2 separate regions of the Homo sapiens genome follow, and region 2 is linked to region 1. The links are contacts of gene promoters, found by promoter capture Hi-C in human tissues and cell types (Jung and others, 2019). All regions are on one chromosome and are shown on one strand. The core of a region is centred on a gene start or on the middle of the fragment in contact, and the rest is flanking DNA. Distances in the headings are between cores, read along the strand shown. Region 1 holds the start of PPA2 (inorganic pyrophosphatase 2). Region 2 has its middle 92 kb from the start of LINC02503.

The links. Contacts are between HindIII fragments. The study calls those that stand out against the background at their distance.
Region 2: a fragment that was not itself captured here is called in contact with the fragment with the promoter of PPA2 in region 1 in 1 of the 25 tissues and cell types used here (dorsolateral prefrontal cortex).

What each region holds. Positions count from the first base shown.
Region 1 is chr4:105,469,633-105,475,311 of GRCh38, reverse strand. It overlaps PPA2 (inorganic pyrophosphatase 2), which reads left to right and starts at 1,250. Exons shown (of 12, transcript NM_176869.3): 1 at 1,250-1,418. The coding sequence starts at 1,262. RefSeq lists a silencer at 1,060-1,269 and enhancers at 1,490-1,609, 1,900-2,069. The HindIII fragment of the contact is 4,779 bases long and covers 1-2,557 here.
Region 2 is chr4:104,050,365-104,056,766 of GRCh38, reverse strand. No RefSeq gene overlaps it. Among named protein-coding and RNA genes, the nearest start is that of LINC02503, 92 kb to the right of the region's middle. The HindIII fragment of the contact is 9,123 bases long and covers 1-6,402 here.

The DNA of each region.
Region 1 (5,679 bases), core at 1-2,500:
TTATGGGAGCATTTGCCTTATAGTTATGCCTATTCAAGTTGACACATTACAAAGGTACCACTGTTGACAAAAACATTTTAGGATCTATAATCTTAGTAGAGTGTCTCTAAGTAGCTAGTCACAATATCTCCTAGGAATCCTTTCTGGAACTTGGGTAGACCAGTATCTCAATTTTAATGATCACACGATAATTGGAGATGCTGAAAGAACCTGGGTGCCCAGTAGGAAAGTAGCCTAGATGATGATAGTCCCAAAGAAGATGGACTAGAAAAAAATAAAATGACACGTGGCAGACTACTGGTTGTTCTACAATATCCATTCTCCTGGATACTGGCCCAAACCATCCTCCTATCTCAGCCTCCCAAGTAGCTGGAACTACAGGCGTGTGTGCCACCCCGCCTGGCCGATGCGCGGTGGCTCACGCCTGTAATCCCAGGACTTTGGGAGGCCAACGCAGGCGGATCAATGGAGGTCGGGAGTTCGAGACCAGTCTGACCAACATGGGGAAACTGTCTCTACTAAAAATACAAAAATTAGCTAGGCGTCGTGACGCATGCCTGTAATCCCAGTTACTCAGGAGGCTAAGGCAGGAGAATAGCTTGAACCCAGGAGGCGGAGGTTGCAGTGAGCCGAGATTGTACCATTGCATTCCAGCCCAGGCAACAGTGTGAGACTCCGTCTCAAAAACAAAACAACAACAAAAAATAATAAAATAAAAGAAAGAATAAATAATCTCTACTGGGTTAGGAAATGGCCTTATGGAGAAGATGGCATTTGAGTAAGCTACTTAGGGTTTTTTGCTCTGTAAGTCGGTGTCAACGTCCCGTTTTCACGTGGTGGCCTGATCATTTTGTCTTATAGTGATGTCTTTGCGTGCATGTGCGCTCATCTCCTATATTGGACAGGGTCTAGAGCAGTTCCTGGCACAGAGTAATCACTCAATATTACATCACTATACTAAAAAATCATGATAGTAATTCTTGACGGGATAAATGAAGGCATGAATAAATGTATGAATTAACGAGTGGCAGTGAGCTCTTCAGGGGTGGTGGGTCTTGTCTCACTCGTCTTTGAGCTGCGGCCTCGCTGAGGGCATAGTGCGCACAACTGGCTGGTGTTCCAGATTCCACTGGCAGGGACCAGGATCGCAGCCCGAGCGCCGGGGCGGGAGGGATGACTCCGGACGGTAGGGGGCACCGGCGTGCGGCCCGGCCGAGCCCCCAGGTAGCTCCGCGCGCACAGCAGGACCGTCATTGACGCCATGAGCGCGCTGCTGCGGCTGCTGCGCACGGGTGCCCCAGCCGCTGCGTGCCTGCGGTTGGGGACCAGTGCAGGGACCGGGTCGCGCCGTGCTATGGCCCTGTACCACACTGAGGAGCGCGGCCAGCCCTGCTCGCAGAATTACCGCCTCTTCTTTAGTAAGTAGCTCCCGGAGGTTCGCCGAGCGGCGCACCGGAGAAACCTGGGTGGGGGATGGAATGGGGGACACTTGGGACGCCCCGCGCGGTCTCCCTTCTCTCTTTTTGGGGCCCTCAGCGGTAGCCGCGCGGTCCAGGCCACCTTACTTCCCGCGGGAGCGCGCACCGAGTCACGAGAACTGCCAGCGAGGAGGCGGCGGATCAAGACCCCAAAGCGGAGAGCAGAGGCGCAGGGCTGCCGGCTGGGGGGTAGATAGCGCCCTGTGCCCTGCCAGCCGCCCTCCCCGAGGGGTAGGCAGAGTGCAAGCGGCCACCCCGCGGCGGCCTGCAGCCATTAGCCGGCCCGGCCGCCGTTCCCGGTTCACACAACTCAGTGAGGAAGGGAAGGCAGAGCCCGCCCACACGCCGGCCTTCCTAGAGGCGTAAGAAACCTCCTACTGCGGGAGCTCCCTGACGTCGGAGAGGCAGGCGGAACTTTGCGGATGCCTAATCCAGCGCGTCTTCTTTTTTTGGAGGGACTCTGATGAAGGTTCTTTCCCCAGAAGCTTGACTTGGTACGCACAAGTTTACACCCTGAGTGTGATCCACCATCCAAAGCCTCGTTGGTTCCGGAGCAGCCCCTTTTCCTCCCCAAGCTGAACAAGCCCAGAAGGCTAAGCGACTTCGGGGGGGTCCCTGAGTTGCCGAGCTCAGAGAAAGGACCCAGGTCTTCGTGACTCATTGTTCCGTGTACCCCATTGTTTCACTGTGTACGTTAACCGTAACAGAAAATAGCGATGTCGGTCGCTTGCCTTCACTCCCCACTGACTGCAGAGCCTTGGAGTGGTAGTATCAAAGTGGGCCTTGCATTATCGCTCCCCTTTTCGGAGCACTGGCTCTGGAGGCTTTCAGTTCTAAGCAGGCCCTCGAGTTCTTCACGTCTTAACTCTGTGACCCCGGACGAGTTTAAGTTGCTAAGCCTTGTTTTTTCTCATCCGTAAAATAGGGCTGCAAGTATTACATGACATTATATATGTAAACTGATTAGTCACAGGGCCTAAAATATAAATTACTATTGTTAATACCGATAATCATTATAGATATTTGTAATTTATGAGAGATTTGCAGTTATGCTACATGAGTTTAGGGTCGAGGATTATTTTGTGGGAAAGAAGAGTTTGCCTAAAGTCGTGTGATTATAATGCAACTAGTACTAGAATTTCTATTTTCTTCAAAATTGGTTGCAGTTTTCACCCTATGCCACATATTTTCTTCTATCTTTGGTTAAGACTGATCAGGTGAACAGGAAGTCTCAAATTTCTGAATGGATTATGTTCTAAAAGGTTACCATGTGATGATTAATGGGAATAGTCAGAAAAAATTATGAAGTGGCAGTTCGCTTTTTAAGCAGATTGAAAAAAGGCCTGTCTACTGCAAGTATTCTAGATTTGCAATAAGTACGGTAATTAATAGATACCCAAATAATAAATATTTATGAAGTGTGCTAGACACTGTTAGGCATAGTACAGAGATTCACAATATTACTATAATTATGGAAAAAGTAAATACACTGGTTGAGCAAAAACAGGCTTGAGAAGCCAGGAGCGCACAGAGTAGTTGACCCAGTACCGGATTTGGAATGGGGAGTCCTAGGCCATAATCTTGGCTCTGCCGTTAACTCGCTGTGTGCTGTTGGGTGGGTGGTTACTTCAGTTCTTTCTCACAGAGCCAGTTTCTTCAGCTGTAAAATGAAGCTTTTGACCTTGAAACGATGATCCTCAAGGTCCTTCTCAGCACTGGTATTCCCTGAAGGCATTGGATGAATAACGGAGATTCTAACAGTCTCTGTTAAGACAGGATGTCGAATGGGGGCATTTTTGGGAGTATGTTGGCCTCTTATTGTTGGTTTGTTTCTTTAGCTGCAAATGTACTTAGGACTCATGATTTTTCTGTAACTAGAGTGCCACAAATAAAATACGTTTTTCATTCAGTTGGATAAACAGGGCAGGAAAGAAGAAAACCCGATTTTACTAAGGTAAATGGGCAAAAACTGGAAGAAAGGGGAGTGTGGTTTTGGAGAGGGTCCCGATGGTAAGATCCTGATTGGAAGGTGTGTTGGTTAAACAATTTCTGAACTAACCGCCAGATGGCATCACTGGCCAGGACTGTTTACTACCTGCTAGAAGGGGTAGGGCAAAGTGAAACGAAGCCACTCTAGGGCGAATGGGGTAAGGGGAAAGCAACGAATAAATTGCCCTTTATAAAGATGATCACAGATTGGATATTTATTACTCAGTGTGTCTGTATGCAGTACTAGGGTGGACTAATGTCTCACTTCAAAAAAAATATGAGTGTAGTATACTTGGCCTAAAATTGTTACTCAGTGTTACTAAAGTGTAATCATTTTCCACATCTCCAAATATATTCCAAGTCTCTGAAATACTAGTGCATTGGGAGGTAGAACATTTTCGAGCTTCATGTCTGTAAATGGTTTCTCTTTACTGTCATTCAGTAAAATCAGAATAAATGATTGATGTAATACTTAAAAAAAAATTGGTGTTAAACTTTGTAGAAAGAGTGAGACAGGATGATTAGGGGAAAGGGTATCCTGATGGGAATCATCAGGCCTCCTTGGTGCCAGCCCTGACCCTGTTAGTATCTTGCTGTCACTTCACCTCCCTGCATCTCATTTTTTAAAACCATGGAATGAGGAGATTGGACCAGATGATCATTTTCCAGACTGCTTAGTTGAACACAAGCATCCCATGGTATATTATTAGGTTTTCGTTAAAACAGAGGGTTTCATGGTTTAATAAATTAGAACACTTCCCATTTTATTACTTTTTTGAAGAAGAATTTGCCTATTTAAGTTCTGGAAAATTCGGATGTAACTTCTCCAAAAACTGAACCACAGAGTACTTATTTCTCAGAACATTTGTTAACATCTTAGTGACATCAGGGTTATGATTTCTGCAACTTCCAGAAGCAACTGTGCTGTAACAGTTCTAAACTAATAGTCAAACCACTTAAGTTGTAGTCCTGACTTTACCGTCTTGGACAAGTCACTCGACTGAATTAACCAGAGGCATCCCTTACCTTCAGATGACATCCGGTAGCTCAGTTTCTCCGTAAATAAAATGGGGATAGCACTAGTAATTTTATAGAATTGCTGTGGCAGTTAAATGAGACTATGTGTGTAATTATCAGTGTCTCACACGTGATAGGTATTTAATAAATGTTATTTATTTTTCCCTTTTGACTTTAAGACATTAGACTAAAATCCTTATTATTAGATTCTGTGAAGGGAGAAAATAAGGTGATGTGATTGATTATTTTGAAGTGTTCCTGTTAATTTATAGGTTTCAGAAGGTTTTTTGTTGTTGTTGTTTATTCATTTTATTTTTATTTTTTTGGTTTGTTTGTTTGTTTAGAGATGGGGTCTCATACTTTTGCCCAAGCTGGAGCACAGTGTGCAATCACGACTCACAGCAGCCTTGACTTCCCCAGCTCAAGCGATCCTCTCACCTCTGTCTCCTGGGTAGCTGGGACTACAGGCATGCACCACTGTGCCCGGCTTCCTAGGTCTTAAAGTTTTAATGGGTACTTGCAGTCTTTTAAATTAACTGTGAAATCATAATGAAGTTAGACTCACTTATATTGAGCCAAAGACCTAATGCTGCATGCCAGTATTCCTTTGATATCTTGCGTGTTTTTGTTTGTTTTGTTTCGTTAATAACTTGAAATTTTATTTTAGATTTCATACTGTTCTCATAGGATAGGGAAAAGCTATGCTTTCCATAATTAGGAATTTTGTTATTATGGGATAGGCAACTGGTTTACTTAGAGAAATAGTGCTGTGGATAATTCAAGTTGCTTTTATTTAGTCTGGGAATGAACCAAGCAGTTCTTTAAAATTAATTTGCTTTGTCACTTATAGTAAGCATGTGCTTGTGTTGAAATTACTGTAGGTTTTCTTTATGTCATTTGGGTAGTAGGAGGAATCTGCCATTGAAAGTGCTGTATCTTTGGACTTAAAAGAGAACTTCCCGTGAATAATCCACAAAATTTGTTTGAGTCTTAAATATGAGTTTCTGTAACTTTTTAAAGTTGGCCTATATCATAGAACTTCAACTGATATAATGGAACACAATGGGTTTTGTGTGAATATAGAAAAAGTATTTTATTTGATTTTTCAGTCCTTAAAACCTTAAACGTTTTCTATATCAGTGCTGTGAAATAGGAATTGTGTGATCTATATGGAACAGAGGAAGCATTTTTATTG
Region 2 (6,402 bases), core at 1,563-4,062, 1.4 Mb after region 1:
GGATAAGATATTCCAGCCCCAAAGCCACTTCAAGCCAGGACAATTCTATGGTGCCATTCACACTCCAGAGCTCCCCATGGGATCACGCTTGTCTAGATTCAGTGAAACCATATTTTTGCTTAGCTCCTTGGCCTGCATCATCTCACTTTGATTTATTTCCTTAAAGGTTTTCACTGAGAACACTCCAGGAGTGCTTGTACAAAATTACTTATCTCAGGCTCTACCTCTCAGGCAGCTGAACTAAGACCCTTCTCTACAGATGTTTATTTACCAAGTTGAAAAATGTAGGTATGCATTGGATTCTGAACTAAGCAAGGGATGAAATGAGTACTTATTCTCCCAGTTCTTACCATGTGACCTCTCTGATCCTCAGTTTCCTTATTACTAAAATGGGAATAATAAGGTTTTGGGGAGGATTGTTAACTATTTTCATGCTAATGATAATATCCCAAATTTGTATATTAAAACTACATTTGTATATTTTATTCATTCATTTATAGCTCTTTACTAAGTTCCTTCTATTTGTTAGGCATTGTCCTAGATTCCGGGGTATAGAGGATGAATAAACAAACAAAAATAACTATTCTGATGAAATATTAACGGTGGATAGTACTCAAATGAGAAAAATGTACAGTAATTTAGATAAATATTTTGGAAAATTAATGTAGAAAATGGGTGTAGTAATGTGTTTTCAGTTCTCATGACAACCTTGTGCATCTTTTGCATGAAAAAACTAAGGATTAGAGAGACTTGCTAAGTTATTCAATATCACACAATCGGTAATAAAATGGAACACAAATCCAGACTTACTTGACTTAATGGTTAAGCTGTATTACCTCACACAATATAAATAAAATCTATAGTGATAAAAACATTGAATAATTGAACCACCAACCATTTTTCCTATTGAATCCTCAGGACATCTGATATTAGCAAACATATCCAGTTTATTTTTAGAATTTCTTACTCTTCATTGTGTGAAAAACCTTGGCTATTATGTTACCCTGCAAGCTGCCCACAAGAGAAAGTAGAAGAGACATTAAGATCTAAGAATTAATGTGTATAACTTCTGAGATTAAATGGGATTAAAAGGAGGATTCAAGAAAGAGAAATGAAGGAAAGAAAATATGACCAACATTCATAGGAGGAATAACAATATTGCTAGTTAAGATATATGAACAGTCATTACAGTTTTGTTTCATTGAGAAAATGGTTAAAAGGAATTGAATCTGACTAAGCATGAATGGCAACACTCTAGATGGAACACCTGTCTGTACCACAGGAGGTGGAATTGGAGTAAAGAAGGCACAATTACATCATCAGGCTGCTTACCTCTTCATAAATTTTAAGCTCAGCTAATTTAAATGAAGCATATACTTCTTCTGTAGGTGAATTGAGTTATGTAACACCAACTATAAAATGATAAGTATAGAGAATGCTATGTTACTTTCTTTGAGAGCTTAGAAAATTTTGGTTTATACAAGTAGTACTTATACTCAAGTTTTGACATGAATGGAAGCCTGGTATACCCACTATCTGTCAGCACCCACATTGTTTTTGTATCTCTCTTACACACACACATAAATTTAAAATAAAAATTTAAGACAAAAAAAAAAAAAAAAAAACTAAGACAAAAAACTTCTTGAGGTTTTGGAAAACCAAAACCTCAAGAAGATAAAGTGACTTACTCTTGTTTTAGTTTTCAGCTGGTAGAGTCAGTGTTTGAAATCTGATTTTTAATAGAAAAAAAAAAACTTTTTACCCTGTGTTACTTGCTTTTTACTAACAAAATTTTATTTTTAAACGATTATATATGACAAGACTTTAGCATAGTATTGGACACAAAGTAGGTATAAAATATGTGGGTTTTTTCCCTTTAATTTCTAAATCAGATATAAAAATATGAATGAAACTGGACTTTCTATCTTGAGGTCAGAGAAATAAAAAGACCTATGGACAGAATACTCAGTGCTGGAAGGTTGCCCAGGGAGGTTTAGGGCCAAGGGCCAAATCTAGTGTATGTGCTACTCATGTCCTGTACCAACTATGAAAATTCTCCCATAGATAAAACCAGCAATGCTGCTTCCTCAAGAGTAACAATTCACCACTGTTATATAAAAATATTATTGTGTTCTCAGATAAATCAAACAAAACAAGAACACACATTAGGGTAAACATTTATGCATGTTTTATTATTTCAAGACTTCTTAGAGAGTTCAATATATATTAGGAATCTCCAAAGGTAGGAAAGGAAAAAGGCAGGTATTACCCCAAATATTTTGAACAAGAAATATATCTCTCATAGAGCATGTTGTGGGATAAGAGTTCTAAAGAATAGATATAGGGAAAATTTATTATATTCATTTTTTGCTTCAGGTTGACACAGAGAAATGTGGTCACTTTCCCTTCAAGAAATAACTTTATACCACATATTTAAAGATTGGGCAGGATTTTGCAAAAAATCACAATGCTGGACCACTTGCCTGTATGCAAGTAGGTTGAAGACCCATCACCTCATGATTTTTGATTAAGGCAGAAAACTTGGCCAAAGGGGTTCAAATTGACAGCAAAAGCACAACAAGATTGACTGGATAATTCAGCATCTATCTGCTGACATAAGCATCCTTAAATTACATTTCTCCCTTCTTATAACCTGGGGTCAAGGCTGGTCCCTGGGTCTTTATTAAGCTCCCTATAGGTGAGGATTAGGTAGGTCCAGCAGCCAGAGACAGAGGAACACAGAGGCTGAAGTGGGCAAGGCTATTAGACTTCCAAAAATAATAAGGAACCATTAATCCACCCTTTTATATGTAGGAAGACTGATGACAAAATACATTGAACAAAGTTGGTAGAAAGAGGGTAGTGATCAATTAGAGTAGCATTTTCTTGATTGTCAGGGTTACATGGTGTTACTTAATTATTTTCCTAGAAGTATTATAATCATATACTACCAGACCTATTTTAAAAGTCTCTGGAAACCAGTCTCAAAGAAGGACCAGCAATTAGCAGAAATTGACATGTGGATCGGCATTACAAATAAGTGGAACAAGATACAAGGGAAGCTTTGTACTGGGAAAAGCACATTGAATTTGTAATCAAAACTCAAGTGCTGGAATGACCACTAAGTGTGGGACTTTGGACATTTTTTCCCCTTTGTGCACTAAGATGGTTGAACTAAATAATATAAAAGGATCGTTTTATCTTTACTTTTAAACATTCTACATTATTTGATTTGTGGTACAGGTGCAAAAAAGATCTTTCTGCAAGAAAAAAAAAAAAGAAACTTCTTACAAGTTGCCTGATTAGACAGCCATTCTTAGATTGCACATTGTATCCTCAGTATTCTCTGCTCAAATGCCAATATTCTCAGGAGAGTAATACATGTCTCAATTAATCAAGGGTTACATAGTAATATCGAACCAAAAATTTGTTTATCAGATCATTTTGCAGTTGCAGAAATTGTCCAGAGAACACTACTGCATGGAAGAGCATGGGAAAGGTTGAGAGGAAGAGGTGATGTTCAAGGAAGACTAGCCTGGATAAGGCACCACAAGGAGACCTGGTAATTAGCTGGCTATCTTAGGAGACCAAGTGTCTGGAGGGCAAAGATGTAGGGATGATAATACAACTATGTAAAATTAAGCGTATCAATTTTCATTTATCATATTATTCAATTAAGGACTATAGTTATCCAGAAAAAAATTCTTTCATGACCTGAGAAGTCTCTAGTCTAATTATACGGCTGTTTTAAATATCTGGTAAAATATTTTGGAAAAACTCAGATAATTTGGTAATGCTACTATTTTATTTTAGAGCTTAGCAAACTCCACACTTCTATCCCTTAGCAAAAACAGTTTTAGAGCAAAAAGCATATCTCTTTTACTAAAAAGACCCTGATAATATTAGTTGAAAGACTTTTAGAGTAAATGTTTAAAGTACATACAAGGCAAAATATGAAATATGGTATTCTGGAAAGAATATAGGATTTAGATTTTACCAAACAATCTAGATTTAGATTTTGCCAAATCCACCAGATTTGAACACTGGCTCTTATATTTTATAAACTGTATAGTATTGACAAGGCCCTTTACCTCTCAAAGCCTCTGAATGTTGTGGGACTGAATGACTTAATACATTGTGTCTGTCTGTAGCTGCTCAATAAATCTGAGTTACTTAGTTCGTAGTTAAAACTACCATTTATTGTCTAATTCAGTAATCTATTTTCCTTCCTGTATTATGGAACATTTTATTTTTTAATATAAGAATAATTTTCAATTTAAAAGGATTAAGGAAAAGCCATGGGATAAGGAAACTAAAAATAATAGACAGGCGATATCCAGCCATTATATAGTTGGATACCAAGTTCTGATTTAATATGCCTCTACCCTCCCCTCTGGGGTACCTTGTAGTTAGAGGATTATGCCATGAGTCAGTTTGTCTGCTGATAAAATATTTTCTCCTCTGAGCAAATTTGCCACCATAATGAATAATTATTCTCTTCCATTAAAAAGATTTTACATCTACACAATTGAAGTTAGAAAATAATCCTCATTTTCTATCATACTAATCAACGTTTTCTGTCACCAAGACGTTCAGCTTAAGTATCTAAGGAATATCTCTTTCTGAGATAAATAGTAATATCCCAAGTAAGTAACAAATAATATCATAGATTTAAAAAATAAAGAAGGAAGAACTGTATTTGCTGAGGCGTATTCTATTCAAAAATACTCTAATATCTTTACCTGAGATCACTCCATCACATTTTGTATCACATTTCCTTACTTTAATGGAAAAATATGTTCATCATAAACTCCCATTGCTAATAAAGCAATCAGACTTCAACTTAAGAAAACACAAATACGTCTTACTTGACAGTTGAATTCAATGACTTCCCTGGATTGCTGGATTCGGTAGATTTAAAGGAAGAAAATGGGACCCAAAAATCAGAAACAAATACTTGTTTTCACAGAGTTCTTTAACAGAAAGTTAAAAAAAATAGTGCCTAAGAAATGAATGAGTTACTGTTTCAAGTAGGCAATATTTCAGTATCTTTATTATAAAATAATTATCTTACATAATCGTGGGTTAATGGAGGTAGATACCACATTTTATCAAATAAGAGTAGGATGGGAAATTCTATATGGAGAATCTGAAAAGATACTAAAGTTATTATGTATTGCTGTGAAAAAATTACCTGAAAACCAGCAGCTACAAATTCTGTGAGTCAAGAATCCAGGTGTGGCTTAGATGAGTGTTTTCTGCTTTGAGTTTCTTACAAGGCTTTGATCATGGTGTTACCTGTGGCTGGAAGTCATCTTAATTCTCAACTGGAGGGGAATCCACTTTGAAGTTCACTCAGATGGTTGTTCGCAGGTCTCAAGTACTCACTAGCTGATGCCTGGGGGTTTCAGCTCTTTGCCATCAGGCCTTCTTCATAGGGCTACTTGCATCATGGTAGTTGGCTTCCCCCAGAAAGTGAATTTGAAGAGAAAAAACCCAACACGGAAGCACAATCTATTGCAGGACATGTTCATTGAATTGACATCCAGTCAACTCTGCTGTGTCCAATTCACTAGAAGTAAGTCACCAAATCCTGCCACCTCAAGGCAAATGATTACACAAAGGTGTGAATCAAAGGAAGGAGGGATCACTGGGAGCCATCTTAGAGTGTGCCAGTTAGGACACTCAGTGCTTACATGTACGTTTCCCTTTCCCCTTAAACATCTGAAAGCAGCCAACTTTCTTCTCTAGTGTTTGGGCATAATCAGTGGGTAAAAACCACTGGGTTCCAAGGGTAGAAGATAGGTAACTCTCACATTGTGGTTGAATTTCAAACCTCAGAGCATACTGAACAGGGCATATCCATGTCATCTCAGAATGCGTTAATTTCTTAATATACGATAGCAATATGAATGTGTTTATCTCATTTTTCCAGGTATTTATGAGACTTTGTATTTTCTATCCCCTGCCCTCCTTGTTTTCCTTCCATCATAGCTTAATCTTGATTCTTTGCTCATTGAACTTCATTGGAGGTCATTTAACATAAATCATTACTACCTTGGTAAATTAAGCAGATGGAAAGCCTTACAAAAGGTCTTCTTGTTTTCTGTTAGATATAGCATTTAATAAAGGAATTGGGGGGAAGATTTATTTTTGGCTGATTTTTTCAACCTAGCTAAATATAGCCATCACGATTTTTGTTTTTGTTTTTTAGTCTGAGGTGACTAAAATCTTCTACAGATTGAATTTTTCTACCCACAATCTAGGTACACATACTTTAGAAATAAATTTAGCCACAGTAGAACTTATTGTTATTAAAAGACTAAAATATATGTCATAATTTAGTCTACAGAAAAAAATAAAAATGAAATGACATACTTAAATATACATTTTGTATTTTAT